2 separate regions of the Homo sapiens genome follow, and region 2 is linked to region 1. Evidence: promoter capture Hi-C in 16 types of primary human blood cells and fetal thymus (Javierre and others, 2016). All regions are on one chromosome and are shown on one strand. Each heading gives the region's core, a stretch centred on a gene start or on the middle of the fragment in contact. The rest is flanking DNA. Distances are from core to core; before and after follow the strand shown. Region 1 holds the start of MOB1A (MOB kinase activator 1A). Region 2 holds the start of CCDC142 (coiled-coil domain containing 142).

Region 1 (7,328 bases), core at 2,293-4,792:
AAGTGCACAATCAATGTAATGCATTTGAATCATCCAGAAACCATCTCCCCAACCAGATCTGTGGAAAAATTGTCTTCCACAAAACTGGTCCCTGGTGCCAAAAAGGTTAGGGACCACTGGACTAGGGTACAGAGAAACTAGTATTTTAATACACTACTGGTGAAAGTATAAAGTGTAACATTTTGGGAGGGCAATATGGTAGTATCTATTAATACTGAAAAGCTCCTCAAGCCATCCATTCTACTTCTAAATATCTCCTCTAGATATGGATAAGAATTTTTTTCCAAGATTGTTTTTAATAGGGAGAAACCTAGAAGCAATCCTCAAGTTTATCAGTAGAGGATTGAATTAAAGTATGGTACATCCATATCATGGAATATTGTATAGAAGTTAAGAAAACCAGACAGAGTACACGTATTCACAGGGAAAGATCTAATACATGGTTAAACATAATACACAACCAAACGTACAGCAGGAGCCCATTTTGTAAATACATAGAAAATATCAAAAACTAAACTCATCAAAACTGGTGATTACTTCTAGGAAGAGGAATGGAATAGAACTATGGACTTTTACTTTACCTGAGTAATTTGGAATTTAAATAAGACTGATTAAGAAGTAAAAAAGAGCCGGGTGCAGTGGCTCACACCTGTAATCCCAGCACTCTGGGAGGGCAAGGCGGGTGGATCACTTGAGGTCAGGAGTTTGAGACCACCCTGACCAACATAGTGAAACCCCGCCTCTACTACACACACACACACACACACACACACACACACACACACACAAACTAGCCGGGCGTGGTGGCAAGTGCCTGTAATCCCAGCTACTTGGGAGGCTGAGGCAGGAGAATTGCTTGAACCCGGGATGCAGAGGTTGCAGTGAGCTGAGATCGCACCACTGCACTCCAGCCTAGGCAACAGAGTGAGACCCTGTCTCAAAAAAAAAAAAAAAAAAAAAAAGGAGGTAAAAAAGAATGATGAAAACACTAAAAATCATATCTGAAAAGTTTTTAACATGATAAAAAAAACTATATTGAACAAGGAAGAAAATATTTGCAAATCATAGATGTGATAAAGACTTGTATCTAGAATGTATAAAGAAGTCCTACAACTCAAAAAGACAGCCCAATTTAAAAACAGGCAAGGCCGGGCGCAGTGGCTCACGCGTGTAATCCCTGCACTTTGGGAGGCCGAGGTGGGCGGATCACTAGGTCAGGATATTGAGACCATCTTGGCTAACACGGTGAAACCCCGTCTCTACTAAAAACACAAAATATTAGCCAGGCATGGTGGCAGGCGCCTGTAGTCCCAGCTACTTGGGAGACTGAGGCAGGAGAATGGCGTGAACCCGGGAGGCGGAGCTTACAGTGAGCCGAGATTGAGCCACTGCACTCCAGCCTGGGCGACAGAGCAAGACTCTGTCTCAAAAAAAAAAAAAAAGAAAATTAACAAGTGCTATGAGAGGTGTGGGGAAATTGGACCCCTCATAGAGTACTTATGGGAATGTAAAATGGTGCAGCACTTTGAAGTTTGGCAGTTCCTCAAAAGGTTAAACATAGTTACCACTTAAGCCAGCAATTCTGCTCCTAAGTATATACCCAAGAGATATGAACACATACATCCACGCAAAAACCTGTCACATATGTTCACAGCAGCATTATTCATAATGGCCAAAAAGCGGGAACAACTCAAGTGTCCATCAAGAAGGCCAAGTTTTAAAAAAAGAAAGTCTCGGCCGAGTGCGGGAGTGGATCATCTGAGGTCAGGAGTTCGAGACCAGCCTGGCCAACATGATGAAACCCAGTCTCCACTAAAAATACAAAAATGAGCCAGGTGTGGTGGCCGGCGCCTGTAATCCCAGCTACTCGGGAGTGTGAGGCAGGAGAGTCGCTTGAACCCGGGAGGCAGAGGTTGCAGTGAGCCGAGACCGTGCCATCCCCGGAGGCAGAGGTTGCAGTGAGCCGAGACCGTGCCATTGCACTCTAGCCTGGAGGACAGAGCGAAACTCCGTCTCAAAAAATAAAAAAAAAGAAAAAGTCTCGTATTAAGGTCCACAAAGCAACTGTGCATTCACTAATTAAATATCAACTCGTAAGAAAAAAGTGGAGGAGGGAGGAATACTTCTATTAATATGGAAGTTAAATCTAAATCATACAGGCTTTTTGACAAGGTAATCGTATTTTAGAGACCATTCATTTACGAGAATAACCCAAAGGAAGGAAAATGAGACGCAGATAAACATATTCTGAGTAGTGCTATTTTATAATAGTAAATACTGGAAGGAATCCCAGTTTCTCACAATAAAGTGGGTAAACTCTGGTTATAAAAAATAAAAAAAAAACTATATAGTGTTTTTATATTGTATTTAATAAAAATGTCAAGCATGTGGATTACATCCATAACTAAAATTGGATAATTATTCAATCACAAAACACACATTTAAGCAATATACAAGGTAGAGAGAGACACCTGAGAATAAAAAATACTGTGCCAGAGCAATGCTTCTCAAACCTTAATGTGCATAAGAATCATCAGGGAATTTACAAGCTTTTTCATTTTAGCCTTGTTTGGTTGGGCTCAGGCATTATCTCTAAAATGAGATTCTAAGGTATGCCTATCAAGTTAATTGCTGTAGTGCACTAAAATGGCAATACTGTGTTTCTGCAATGGGACTATGAATTTGTTTTAACTTTCCAAATTATTTATAATACTGCAATGTACTATATAATAATGCTGTATGGTATATTACATAATGATTAAAAACACAGGATTCTACCGAGGACAAGAGAAGTTGGTTAAAATCAAAGCCAGTAAGTGGGCAGAATCAGAACTGGACAGAACGATCCGACTCCAAGGCCAGCATCTTAACTTCAAGCTTCTCAAACTGCGGCAACGCACATTCTCCTGGGGCGGCATTTAACACCGACAATAATGAAACTGGACCTATAACCGAGCAACGAGTTAAGTCGGCAAGGACGGTTTCTAGAAGCTCGAGACAAGAGAAACTGGGGGCTCGCGGCTCCGCCCCCAGATCGTCTCCCCGCCCTCGGGGGCGCTCGGGCGGAAAAGTTTGGAGGCGCGACGGCCCCGGGGCCTTTCTACTCCCCAGCCTTCACGCTCCGTTTCCTTTACTTCGACCTTCATCTCTGTCGGCCTCTCCCAACATCTCGGCCTCCCCCGCGGACCCGAACAGAGGCAAAACAAACGCCAGCTACCCCGCCCCCGCCTCGGCCCCCAGGCCGAGCCCTCGCCTCAGGTCCGGGGAGGCCTCCCCCACAACCTCGGCCCGCAGGCCCGGCGCCCGCGGCCCGACCCCACTCACAAGAGGAAGCTCATCTTCGGTCCTCAGAGGGGAGGCGAGGGGCCCCTGGCCCCCGCCTGGATCAGGATTCGGAGCTGGCTAGAGGGAGCGGACCGTCCTTAGCTCACGGGCAGCGGAAGCCGGGCCGCCGCCGCTCGGAGCCGGGTTTCTGGCCGCTGCGAGCCTTTGCAAACCTCGGCGCCCGCCTTGCCCGCCTACCCCACCTCGCAGACCCGAAATGCGGAACCAACAAAATCTCGCGAGCTAAGGTTTCGCTGCGCCGGGAGGGACTTGTCGCGCCCCCTTTCGCTCCGCCTCGTCCTAGAACTCGGCCAATCATCGCTCTCCAAGCCAGGACCTCCCTCCCCCGGAGGCGTGGCGAGGATGGCGGTCCTGCGGAAGGGGCAGTGGCTGGTCCTGCTCTTAGAGTATCTTGGTGCTGCTGGGTTTCGATCCCGCTCCCTAGGTTATGCAGGGACCTCTATAAGCGCTGCGTACTCCTGCAATTTTTAAAATTGTTAATTTAATTTTTACTTGAAATATATTCACATAGCATAAAATCTGTCCTTTAAACATGTACCCTCTAGTGGTCTTTTTCGGTTTTTTCTTTCTTTTTTTTTTTTTTTTCTGAGGTGTCTCGCTCTGTCGCCCAGACTGGAGTTCACAGTTCACTGCAGCCTGGACTTCCTGGGCTTAAGTGATCCTCTCGCCTCAGCCTCCCGAGTAGCTGAGACCACAGGTGCCTGCCACCACGCCCGGCTAATTTTCTCAAAGTTTTTGCAGAGACGAGCGTCTCACTGTGTTGCCCAAGCTGGTCTTGGACTCCTGAGCTCAAGGGATCCTCCTGGTTTGACCTCCCAAAATGCTGGGATCACAGGTGTGAGCCACTGCCTCCGGCTTTGTTTATGTTTTCAAAGTGTGCCAACCATCAGCACTAATTTTTTTTTTTTTTTTGACAGAGTCTCACTTTGTAACCCAGGCTGGAATGCAGTGGTGCAATCTCGGCCCGTTGCAACCTCTGCCTTCCAGATTCAAGTGATTCTCATGCCTCAGCCTCCCGAGTAGCTGGGATCACAGTCGTGCGCCACCACACCCGTCTAATTTTTGTATTTTTTTTTTTTTTTTTTTTTAGTAAAGACGGGGTTTCGCCATGTTGGCCAGGCTGGTCTCGGTCTTGAACTCCTGACCTCAAGTGGTCCACCCGCCTCGGCCTCCCAAAGCTGGGATTACAGGCGTGAGCCACCGCGCCCAGCCTAACCATAATTTTAGGCCATTTTCATCACCCCGAAAAGAAACCCCATACCTATTAGCAGTTACTCTTTATTACCCACCTCCCTCCTCCCAACCCCTGGCAACCACTACTCTACTTTCTATTTCCATGGATTTACCTAATCTGGACATTTCATATACACTGTGAATGGAAGCATACATTATGTGGTCTTTTGTGACTGACTTCTTTCACTTAGCATAATGTTTTAAAACGCACCCATATTGTAGCATGTATCAAAGCTTCATTACTGGCCAGGCACAGTTGTGGCTTACGCCTGTAATCCCAGCACTTTGGGAGTCTGAGGCTGGCGGATCACTTGAGCTCAGGAGTTCGAGACCAGCCTGGGCAACATGGTGAAACCCCGCCTCTACAAAAACACAAAAATTAGCCAGGCGTAATGGTGTGTGCCAGTGGTCACAGCTATTCGGGAGGCTGAGGCGGGAGGATTCCTTGAGTCCAGGAGATGGAGGCTGCAGTGAGCCAAGATGGCGCCACTTCACTCCAGCCTGGGTGACAGAGCCAGATCCTGTCTCTAAAACAAAAAAAAAAAAAAGAAAAAAGAAAAAAACTTTATTTCTTTCTATGGATGAGTAATATTCCATTATGTGAATATACCACATTCTGTTTACCCATTCATCTGTTGAGGAACATTTGGGTTGTTTCCACTTTTTGTCTATTATTAATAATGCTGTCGTGAACATTCATGTACAGGCTTTTGTGTGGTATTAATGCCAAGTGACAGCCAAGCAACGCCTTCATTCCACCATGGTGGAATGAAGAAAACAAAAGGAAAATAGTGGGAGACTTCAGTCATAGCTCAGCAAATGGTGGTGCAGGGTGCTCAATGTAAAGGAGTTTGCCCTGTACCTGACTGCACAATGTTCATGTTTCCAGTAATTTTATTTCATTCATATATCACTTGTCACATTAAGTTAATGATGTTAGGGCACATGAGACTGTATTAAATTATATTTACTATTTCTTGAATATATTTTTCAGTCAGTTATGTAAAGCAAATTTACATACTCTTTTTCCTCCCCTGAAAAAAATAAATTAATAATTTTAATTTTTTAAACTTTTGTAGTTTTTTGGAATTTGATTTATAAATAAATGCGATTTGATATCGCTATATGGAAGTTACAAATATAGGAACACAGATTTAGGCCGGGCGAGGTGGCTCACACCTGTAATCCCAGCACTTTGTGAGGCTAAAGTGGGCAGATCACTTGAGCTCAGGGGTTTGGGACCAGCCTAGGCAACATGGCAAACCCCCATCTCTACAAAAAAAAAAAAAGATAGCCGGGTGTGGGGGTGCACGCCTATAGTCCCAGCTACTTGGGAAGCTGAGGCGGGAGGATGGGTTGAGCCCTGGAGGTAGAGGCTGCAACGAGCCGAGATCACACCACTGTACTCCAGCCTGGGTGACAAAAGTGAGGCCCTGTCTCAAAAAAAAAAAAGAAAAAAGGTACATCTATTTATACTTCTGTGGTAATTTATATTACTTAAATAATATCATAAAAACAATTTCCAAATAACATGGGAAAAAAGAAATTCATGAAAGGTTTCCCTCTTTCAATGGTATTTTTCTTCAAGTTGAAGAATCACTGAGGATAGAAGTCCAGCTATTTATAAGAAAAACCTTTCAGGATGGCTAAATTTGGTTGGGGTAGCAGGGAGGGAGGATTTCAGGGTTAGGGAAAAATCCTCAATCAATATTTAAGCACGATATCAACATAGTTCACTTAGATATCAAAGATAAGATTTTTCCAGTAAAAGAGAGAAAAAGAAATTGTTCATTGCTAATTGCTACAGGACAATTTGTTCCCTACCAGACAAGGTCTATACAAAGACCGAAGAAGTTTTATTCACTTCTTGGCTTAGCCGGCCAGAGATCACTGCACACCATCTGGTCACAGCAGATGCTGAAAGCAGAAGCTAAGCGGCAAATTATGAGGCCTCCAGGACTAGATCTTCTGAACCTCTCCCCACCCGCCTTTCATCACACACAGTTCCCCTTTCTAGCTCCCTGAGGCAGGATTTGCAACTCTGCATTTTCATTCTGTGTAAGTGCCCATCCTATCATTTGCAAAACTCCCGTTTTACCCTAACAACCTCACCCACACAGGGCATCTTCCCACTTTGGTCGCAGTAACGTTCCTGCCCCTCCCAGCCAGTTGGTGCTGTTGGGAGCTCAAGCTTTTTTTTTTTTTTTTAAACAAAAACAAACAAACAAAAAACTCTACTCCTGTGACAGATTAAGGAATTTTAATCTTTGTCACAAATAGGTGAAGAGAAACAAACAGTAAAGTTGCTAACCAGCCTGGGCAACATGGTGAAACCCCTTCTCTACAAAAAATACAAAAATTAGCTGGGCATGGTGACTTGAGTCTGTAGTCCCAGCTACTCTGGAGGCTGAGGTGGGAGGATCCCTTGAGCCCAGGAAGTCCAGGCTGCAGTGAAAGGAGACTGTGCCACTGCACTCCAGCCTGGGCATCAGAGAGAGACCCTGCCTCAAAAAAATAAAAATAAAATAAAATAAGTTGGTAAGCTGTCCCTGTCCATTATCTCAGTACTCAGGTTGCAGACTTTGCAGACTGTGAAGGAGAAATCCCAATTTATCAGAAATCAAAAACTCACTCAGCGGCTGGGCATGGTCGCTTACGCCTGTAATCCCAGCACTTTGGGAGGCCAAGGTCGGCAGATCACTTGAAGCCAAGAGTTCGAGACCAGCCTGGCCAACATGGTGAAACCCCCA
Region 2 (7,328 bases), core at 255-2,754, 300 kb after region 1:
GACACAAAGATGCCAGCTCCTTCTCACACTCCTGAGGCAGGGATGCTAGTGGGAGAAATGACTCTGGGGCCTGAAAACAAGGTCTCACTTTCCACAACCCCTGCCCACTCAATGATGAGGCAAGAAGGCATGCTTCCTCCAAGACTCGGGACTGGGGTGGAAAGCAAGACTTTGCCTTGAAAGCTCAGAAGCTATAGTCTGAACCCAGGGGTGTTCTTTCTAAAGGGCCTGCTTTTGCCTTCAGGATGGCAGGTCAGTGAGTTGGCCAAGGGGAAGGAAGAGACCCCAGCCTTCCCAAACGCCCACCCAAGCCCATCACTCACCCTGACCCAGTGCCTGACTCAGCTGTTGCGCTGTTGCCCTGGGGTCCCTCCAGGGTCCCAGATTTAGGTCCAGACTCTGAGCACAGGCTGCCCACAGCAGGGTCCAGTATTGGCTCCACAAGGCCCCAGCCCCTCCGAGCCCTAGTCCACAGCTGGCTGAACCCGCCACGCCCCCGACCAGGCCCAGCAGCCCTGGTAGCAGATCCCCCTCCTCTTGGCACCGCCTGCGGAGCTGGTCCCTCAACGCCGATCCTTGGAGCGCCTCGTCCAGCCGACTTGCCACCTGGCAACCCCGCTCCCCCGTCAAGAGGCGGAGCACACGGGACGTGGGGAAAGGACGTGCGGCCCCTGGGACGTGGCTCAAGGCTTTTCTCTGTAGTGTGTGGTAGGCGGGAAGTGCAAAGAGCAGCTCGGCGAGTTGGGACGACAGGCCCGGGCTGGCGGGCTCCCGGCCGAGAGCGCGAAGCTGCATCTCGATGACAGCCTCCAGGCACTGGGCGGCTAGTCCGATGGGGCGCGCTAGCAGCAGCGGCTCGAGAGTCTCCCCAGGGCCGATTCGCAGAACCGCCCCTTGGGAAGGGTGCAGCTGCAGGTCGCGGCACCACTGGGGCAAGGGGCTAGGGCCGCCGGATGGCGAGCCAGGACTCAGGGTCTTCATGAGTCGCACAGCCGACTGTAGGTGGTAGGCGCAGTCTCGGGCCTGGAGGAGCTGCTCCCGCTCGCGATGCAGCCGCAGCAACACCGCCCGGAGACGCTGCAGCGCGGGAGGGATCGGGCCGCCACCTGCGGGCCCCCGCCTCCAGGCCGCAGCATCAGCCTCGTAGTCCTCGCTCACATCCGCCGGCGTCGGCCACCACGGCGTCCCTCCAGAAGTTCCGCTCGGCCAGCAGTGAACCTCCCAGCGAAGACCGCCCGTTCGACTTCTCTCCCACTGCTCCTCCCCAGTGCCCCCGGGTTGCGCCCTCAGCGGGGGCACGATAACGAGTGGAGGCAGGCTACCTGAGCGAGACGCCTGGGCCATGGGGCGGCGGGTCCAGAACGAACCTAACGATTCCCACTTCCCTGCACGGACCAACGCCCGCCGCAGCTCGGACTTCGCCCCATCGCAAGAGCCGTTTTCTCCAGTCCGGGAGTCGCGGGGACCTTCATGGACTCTCTCGTGCTCCGTAATGGGAGGCTTCTGCCCCTAACAAACATGGCCGCCCACTCTGTCCCACCCCGCCCTTTGGCTGGTATCAAATACTAGACTACCTTTCATTTCCGGGTCACTGTAGATGCGATGGCGCCGATTCCAAAGACTGTGGGGCGGATCAAGCTAGGTGAGCGGTATGACAAGACCAGTGGGGGTCTAGGAGGGCAGAGGCAGCCCCTCTTGGGTCCACCTGTGGTCTGAACGTTTCGAGTAGGATTTTATGCAGAGGGCGGAGAGTCGAGGGTAGAGTGGGGAGGACTCTAGCCCATCTGTCCCGAGCCCGCTGACGAGGCTCCGCCTTCCTTTCCTGTAGACTGCTCTCTACGGCCCAGCTGCCCACTGGAGGTCGCTGCTGCACCCAAACTTTGCAAGGAATTCGGTCCAGAGGATTACGGCGAAGAGGTAAAAGCGACCCTCAGTTTCCCCCAGTCCTGCTCATTTTGGTCACGCCTCTTTGAAGTCAGCTGTGCAGAAACCCGCGACGGATGGGCGCCAGACGGGGCTCTGGAGGCTTTGGGGAGTTGTAGTCTCCGGCCATGCCCTTGAGGATCTTAGGCAAGTGAGGGGCAGGGGATCAGGAGGATGATCCTGATGTAACAGATGCTCGAAGTGGGTAGAATTGAGCAGACAAGGGTCTCTGAGTTGAGGATTAGGGAGTGGGTACGAGTTCCTTGGGAAAAGATGGAGGCCGGGCGCGGTGGCTTGTGCCTGTAATCTCAACACTTTGGGAGGCTGAGACGGGAGGATTGCTTGAGCCCAGGAGTTAGAGACCAGCCTGGGCAACATAGTGAGACCCCATCTCTACAAAAATGTTTTTAAAAAATTTAGCCCGCGTGGTGGGTGGGGGATCTCTTGAGCGCGGGAGGTCAAGGTTTCAGTGAACCATGATCGTGCCACTGCACTCCAGCCTGGGGAACGGTGAGACTCTGTCTAAAAAAAAAAAAAAGCTGGGCCCAGTGGCTCACACCTGTAATCTCAGCACTTTGGGAGGCCTAGGGGGGCGGATCACTTGAGGTCGGGAGTTCGAGACCAGCCTGGCCAACATGGTGAAACGCCATCTCTACCAAAAATACGAAAAACTAGCTGGGCGTGGTGGTGTGCGCCTGTAATCCCAGTCACTGGGGTTACTGAGGCAGGAGAATCGCTTGAACCCGGGAGGCAGAGGTTGCAGTGAGCCAAGATCACACCACTGCACTCCAGCCTGGGCAACAGAGGGAGACTCCATTTCAAAAAAAAAATGAAAAAATATCTTTTTATAGATGGAGGGGACAGTGTGAGCAAAGACAGTAAAACAAGGAAAAGTTGAGAGAACTTTACCAAAGTGAGACCAGAGTAGAGAATCTGGTTGGAACAGTAAAAGATGGGGTGGGAGAGAAGGCAGCAGATGGCTTGAAAGGCTTTGACTTAGCACAGGGGTTTGGATGTTCTCAAGTAGGCAACAGAGTTTTTTTGTTTTTTGTTTTTTTTTAAGATGGAGTCTCACTCTGTCGCCCAGGCTGGAGTGCAGTGGTGTGATCTTGGCTCACTGCAACCTCCGCCTCTCTGGTTCAAGCAATTCTTCTGCCTCAGCCTCCTGAGTAGCTGGGACTACAGGCACATGCCACCAGTCCCAGCTAATTTTTGTATTTTTAGTAGAGACTGGGTTTCACCATGTTGGCCAGCATGGTCTCGATCTCTTGACCTCGTGATCCGCCCGCCTTGGCCTCCCAGAGTGCTGGGATTGCAGGTGTGAGCCACCATGCCCGGTAGACAGCAGGGTTTTCGAAGGAGGGACAGGATCAGATTTGGAAGCATTGAGGCGCTATACTCCCTAGAATCTCAAACTCAAACCCAAAAGTTAATTTAATTAACTTTTGTTAAATTAATTTATCATGTTTGTAAATTGGTTGCTTTTCTTCTAATCCCAATTTTGGTTAATAACACAAACTTTCATCTAGTTGTTTAATCTGGAAATCTGATAATCATTTTATATCCCTTTCTTTTACCTCAAACATTTAGTTAGTCACTAAAATTTACTTTTTTTTTTTTTTTTTTTTGAGACAGAGTCTCACACTGTCGCCCAGGCTGGAGTGCAGTGGCGCCATCTCTACTCACTGCAACCTCCTCCTCCCGGATTCAGGCAATTTTCCTGCCACAGCCTACTGAGTAGCTAAGATGGCAGACACCCACCACCACGCCCAGCTAATTTTTGTATTTTTAGTAGAGAGGGGTTTCACCATATTGGCCAGGCTGGTCTCAAACTCCTCACCTTGTGATCTACCCATCTCGGCCTCCCAAAGTGCTGGGGTTACAGGCATGAGCCACCATGCCGGCCACTAAAATCTACTTCTAAATGTCTCTTGACAGAAGCCCCTCATTTCCGTTCCTGGTCTTGCTGCCATTCCCTTATATCAAGACTCCTTGTATCTGGCCTGAACTAAACATTACATCCATAGCCTCATCTTCCCCTGAGCAGTATTTCTTTTTTTTTTTTTTTTTTGAGATGGAGTTTTGCTCCCGTTGCCCAGGCTGGAGTGCAATGGTGTGATCTTGGCTCACCGCAACCTCTGCTTCCCGGGTTCAAGTGATTCTCCTGCCTCAGCCTCCCGAGTAGCTGGGACTACAGGCGCCTGCCACCACGCCTGGCTAATTTTTTGTATTTTTAGTAGAGACAGGGTTTCACCATGTTAGCCAGGCTGGTCTCGATCTCCTGACCTTGTGATCCGCCCACCTCAGCCTCCCAAAATGCTGGGATTACAGGCGTGAGCCACCGCACCTGGCCCAATTTTGTATTTTTGTACAGATTGCGTTTCTCCATGTTGGTCATGCTGATCTCAAACTCCAGACCTCAGGTGATCCACCCTCCTTGACTTCCCAAAGTGCTGGGATTACAGGCTTGAGCCACCATGCCTGGCCGTCTCAGCACTATTTCATTTGATTGTTTCATTCCCCAGATCAAGTCCACTGCTATCACTGACAAGATAAAGTCTACACTCACGGCCAGGCGCAGTGGCTCACACCTGTAATCCTAGCACTTTGGGAGGTTGATGCAGGCGGATCATGAGGTCAGGAGATGGAGACCATCCTGGCCAACATGGTGAAACACCGTCTCTACTAAAATACAAAAAATTAGCTGGGCATGGTGGTGGGCGCCTATAGTCCCAGCTACTTGGGAGGCTGAGGCAAGGGAATTGCTTGAACCCAGGAGATGGAGGTTGCAGTGAGCCAAGGTTGCGCCATTGCATTCCAGCCTGGAGACAGGGTTAGACTCCGTCTCAAAAAAAAAAAAAGTTCACACTCACTGTGTCACACATGTTTCTTCACACACAGTTCCTGGCTCTGTCTCTATTGGAATAGCCTCCTCACCAATCTCTGTTTACTCAGCACACACACAATACCACCTATGTACTAGATACTGTTGTAGGTACTGAGAAACAGCAGTAAATCAAACAGACCAAAATCTTTCTGTTCAACAAATTAGGAGCATCTAATGAGGGCAACCAGTGACCAAATAAATAAACAACATAGTATGTCAAACATGAGAAGTACAAAGAAAAAGCAAGAAGGAGGATAGGGAGTGCTGAGTGGAGTTGGGAAGTTTCTCCTTCTAAAAGTAGTGGTCAGGCCAAGTGTGGTGGCTCACGCCTGTAATCCCAGCACTTTGGGAGGCTGAGGCACATGGATCACCTGAGGTCAGGAGTTTGAGACCAGCCTGACCAACATGAAGAAACCCCGTTTCTACTAAAAGATACAAAATTAGCTGGGCATGGTGGTGCATGCCTGTAATCCCAGCTACTCTGGAGGCCGAGGCAGGAGAATCACTTGAACCCTGGAGGCGGAGGTTGCGGTGAGCCAAGTTCATGCCATTGCACTCCAGCCTGGGCAACAAGGGCGAAACTCCACCTCAAAAAAAAAAAAAAAGGAGTGTTCAGAGAAGGCCTCTCTGAGAAAGTGACATTTACATAGAGATCTAAAAAGGACGAAGGAGTGAGCTGTTCACTGGGGAAAAAGCATTCTAGGCAAAGTAAAGTGCAAAGCCCTAAGATGGGAGCACAGTTGGTATGTTGTGGGAACTTCCAAGGACACTGCTGTGGCTGGAGGAGGGTAACAAGATAGGAGAAGATTCACAATGATATTGGGGGACCAGATCATATGTAGTGGCCATGTAGTGAATTCAGAGAGCAGCACAGACTGTGGTTTGGGGACAGGTAGTAGAAGGTCAAGGAAGTACCTGTTTGTTTGTTTTTTTGAGACGTAGTCTCGCTCTGTTGCCCAGGCTGGAGTGCAGTGGCGAGATCTCGGCTCACCACAACCTCCACTTCCCAGTTTCAAGCAATTCTCCTACCTCAGCCTCCCAAGTAGCTGGGATTACAGATGCGTGCCACCACACCTGCTTAATTTTTGTATTTTTAGTAGAGACGGGTTTCACCATGTTGGTCAGGCTGGTCTCGAACTCCTGACCTCAAGTGATCTGCTTGCCTTGGCCTCCCGAATTGCTGGGATTACAGGTGTGAGCCACTGCACCCGGCTTTTTATTTTTTTAAATTTATTTTTATTTTTTATTTTTAATGATGACTACACTGGTTTGAGGAGGAAGAGAGAAGAAATACAGTATATATTTGAGTGGCACATCCTGAGGAGGCTGCCTGACATGGGGCAGAGAGCATGCTTTATTTATTTATTATTAATTAATTAATTTATTTATTTTTATGAGACAGAGTCTCACTCTGTCACCCAGGCTGGTGTGCAGTGGTGTGATCTTGGCTACTGCAACATCTGCCTCCCAAGTTCGAGCAATTCTCGTGCCTCAGCCTCCTGAGTAGCTGGGACTACAGGCATGTGCCACCATGCCCAGCTAATTTTTGTATCTTTAGTATAGATGGGGTTTCGCCATGTTGGCCAGGCTGGTCTAAAACTCTTGGCCTCAAGTGACCCACCCGTCTTGGCCTCCCAAAGTGCTGGGATTACAGGCGTGAGCCACCATGCCCAGCCATATTTATTTATCGAGACAGGGTCTCCCTCTGTTACCCAGGCTTCAGTGCAGTGGCATGATCATAGTTCACTGCAGCCTTGAACTCCTGGGCTCAAACAGTCCTTCGATTTCAGCCTCCCGAGTAGCTGGGACTATAGGCGTCCGCACCACACCTGGCTCATTATTTATGCTTATGTTGCAGTTAGGAAGGTGACACAAACCCACCAGGAAATTGAATTTTAAGTATAAGACTGATGAAAGTGCCTAGCAGTATTGGAGATGCTGTTAAGCCAGGACTATCTTCTGAGGGAAGCCTTGGATCTAAAATTGTTTAGAAAATTGAATATACCTTAGTCATCTGAAGTCCTGCCTACAGATTTTTTTTTAGCACGCTGGAGTTTCTAAGTTTGTGGCTTCTAACTCAATAAGTCCAAAAGATCATTGGCTTCTAAGCGTCTCAGTCAGTCCTGCTCTGTTTAGGCCTGATTAGGCAAATAGGAATGTGATCATTCCTGTCTTTGAAGCTTATACTCCCTGAGGAAATGACTCCCATCAGGACCACAGAATGTGTGGGCCAGGCCTTAAAGAGTCTTGCCTTATTTTGTGAATGAGGGAGAGGTCCAAAGAAGTTAAATGACTTCTCCAGAATCAAACAGGCAGGTAGTGTCAGAGTGAAAATTTGGACAAGCTGGACATGATGGTGCAAACCTGAAGTCCCATCTACTCAGGAGGCTCAGGCAGGAGGATCGCTTGAGCCTAGGTGTTTGGGTCTAGCCTGGGCAACACAGCAAGACCCTGTCTCAGAAACAAACAAAAAATAGTCGGCCGGGCACAGGGGCTCACACCTGCAATCCCAGCACTT

Evidence for each region. Contacts are between HindIII fragments. The CHiCAGO score rates a contact against its expected background, and 5 or more counts as called.
Region 2: a contact is called between the fragment with the promoter of CCDC142 here and the fragment with the promoter of MOB1A in region 1, in 3 of 17 cell types (total CD8 T cells, fetal thymus and activated CD4 T cells). The highest score is 6.2, in total CD8 T cells.

Annotation. Positions count from the first base shown.
Region 1 is chr2:74,175,337-74,182,664 of GRCh38, forward strand. It overlaps MOB1A (MOB kinase activator 1A), which reads right to left and starts at 3,543. Exons shown (of 6, transcript NM_018221.5): 1 at 3,325-3,543. The coding sequence starts at 3,338. RefSeq lists silencers at 1,203-1,395, 3,115-3,304 and enhancers at 2,568-3,251, 6,340-6,479, 6,490-6,619. The HindIII fragment of the contact is 1,935 bases long and covers 2,876-4,810 here.
Region 2 is chr2:74,481,494-74,488,821 of GRCh38, forward strand. CCDC142 (coiled-coil domain containing 142) reads right to left here and starts at 1,505. Exons shown (of 9, transcript NM_001365575.2): 1 at 324-1,505; 2 at 1-45. The coding sequence starts at 1,344. It overlaps TTC31 (tetratricopeptide repeat domain 31), which reads left to right and starts at 1,588. Exons shown (of 13, transcript NM_022492.6): 1 at 1,588-1,642; 2 at 1,829-1,917. The coding sequence starts at 1,603. RefSeq lists enhancers at 648-747, 818-937, 1,048-1,587, 1,908-2,017. The HindIII fragment of the contact is 7,623 bases long and covers 1-6,988 here.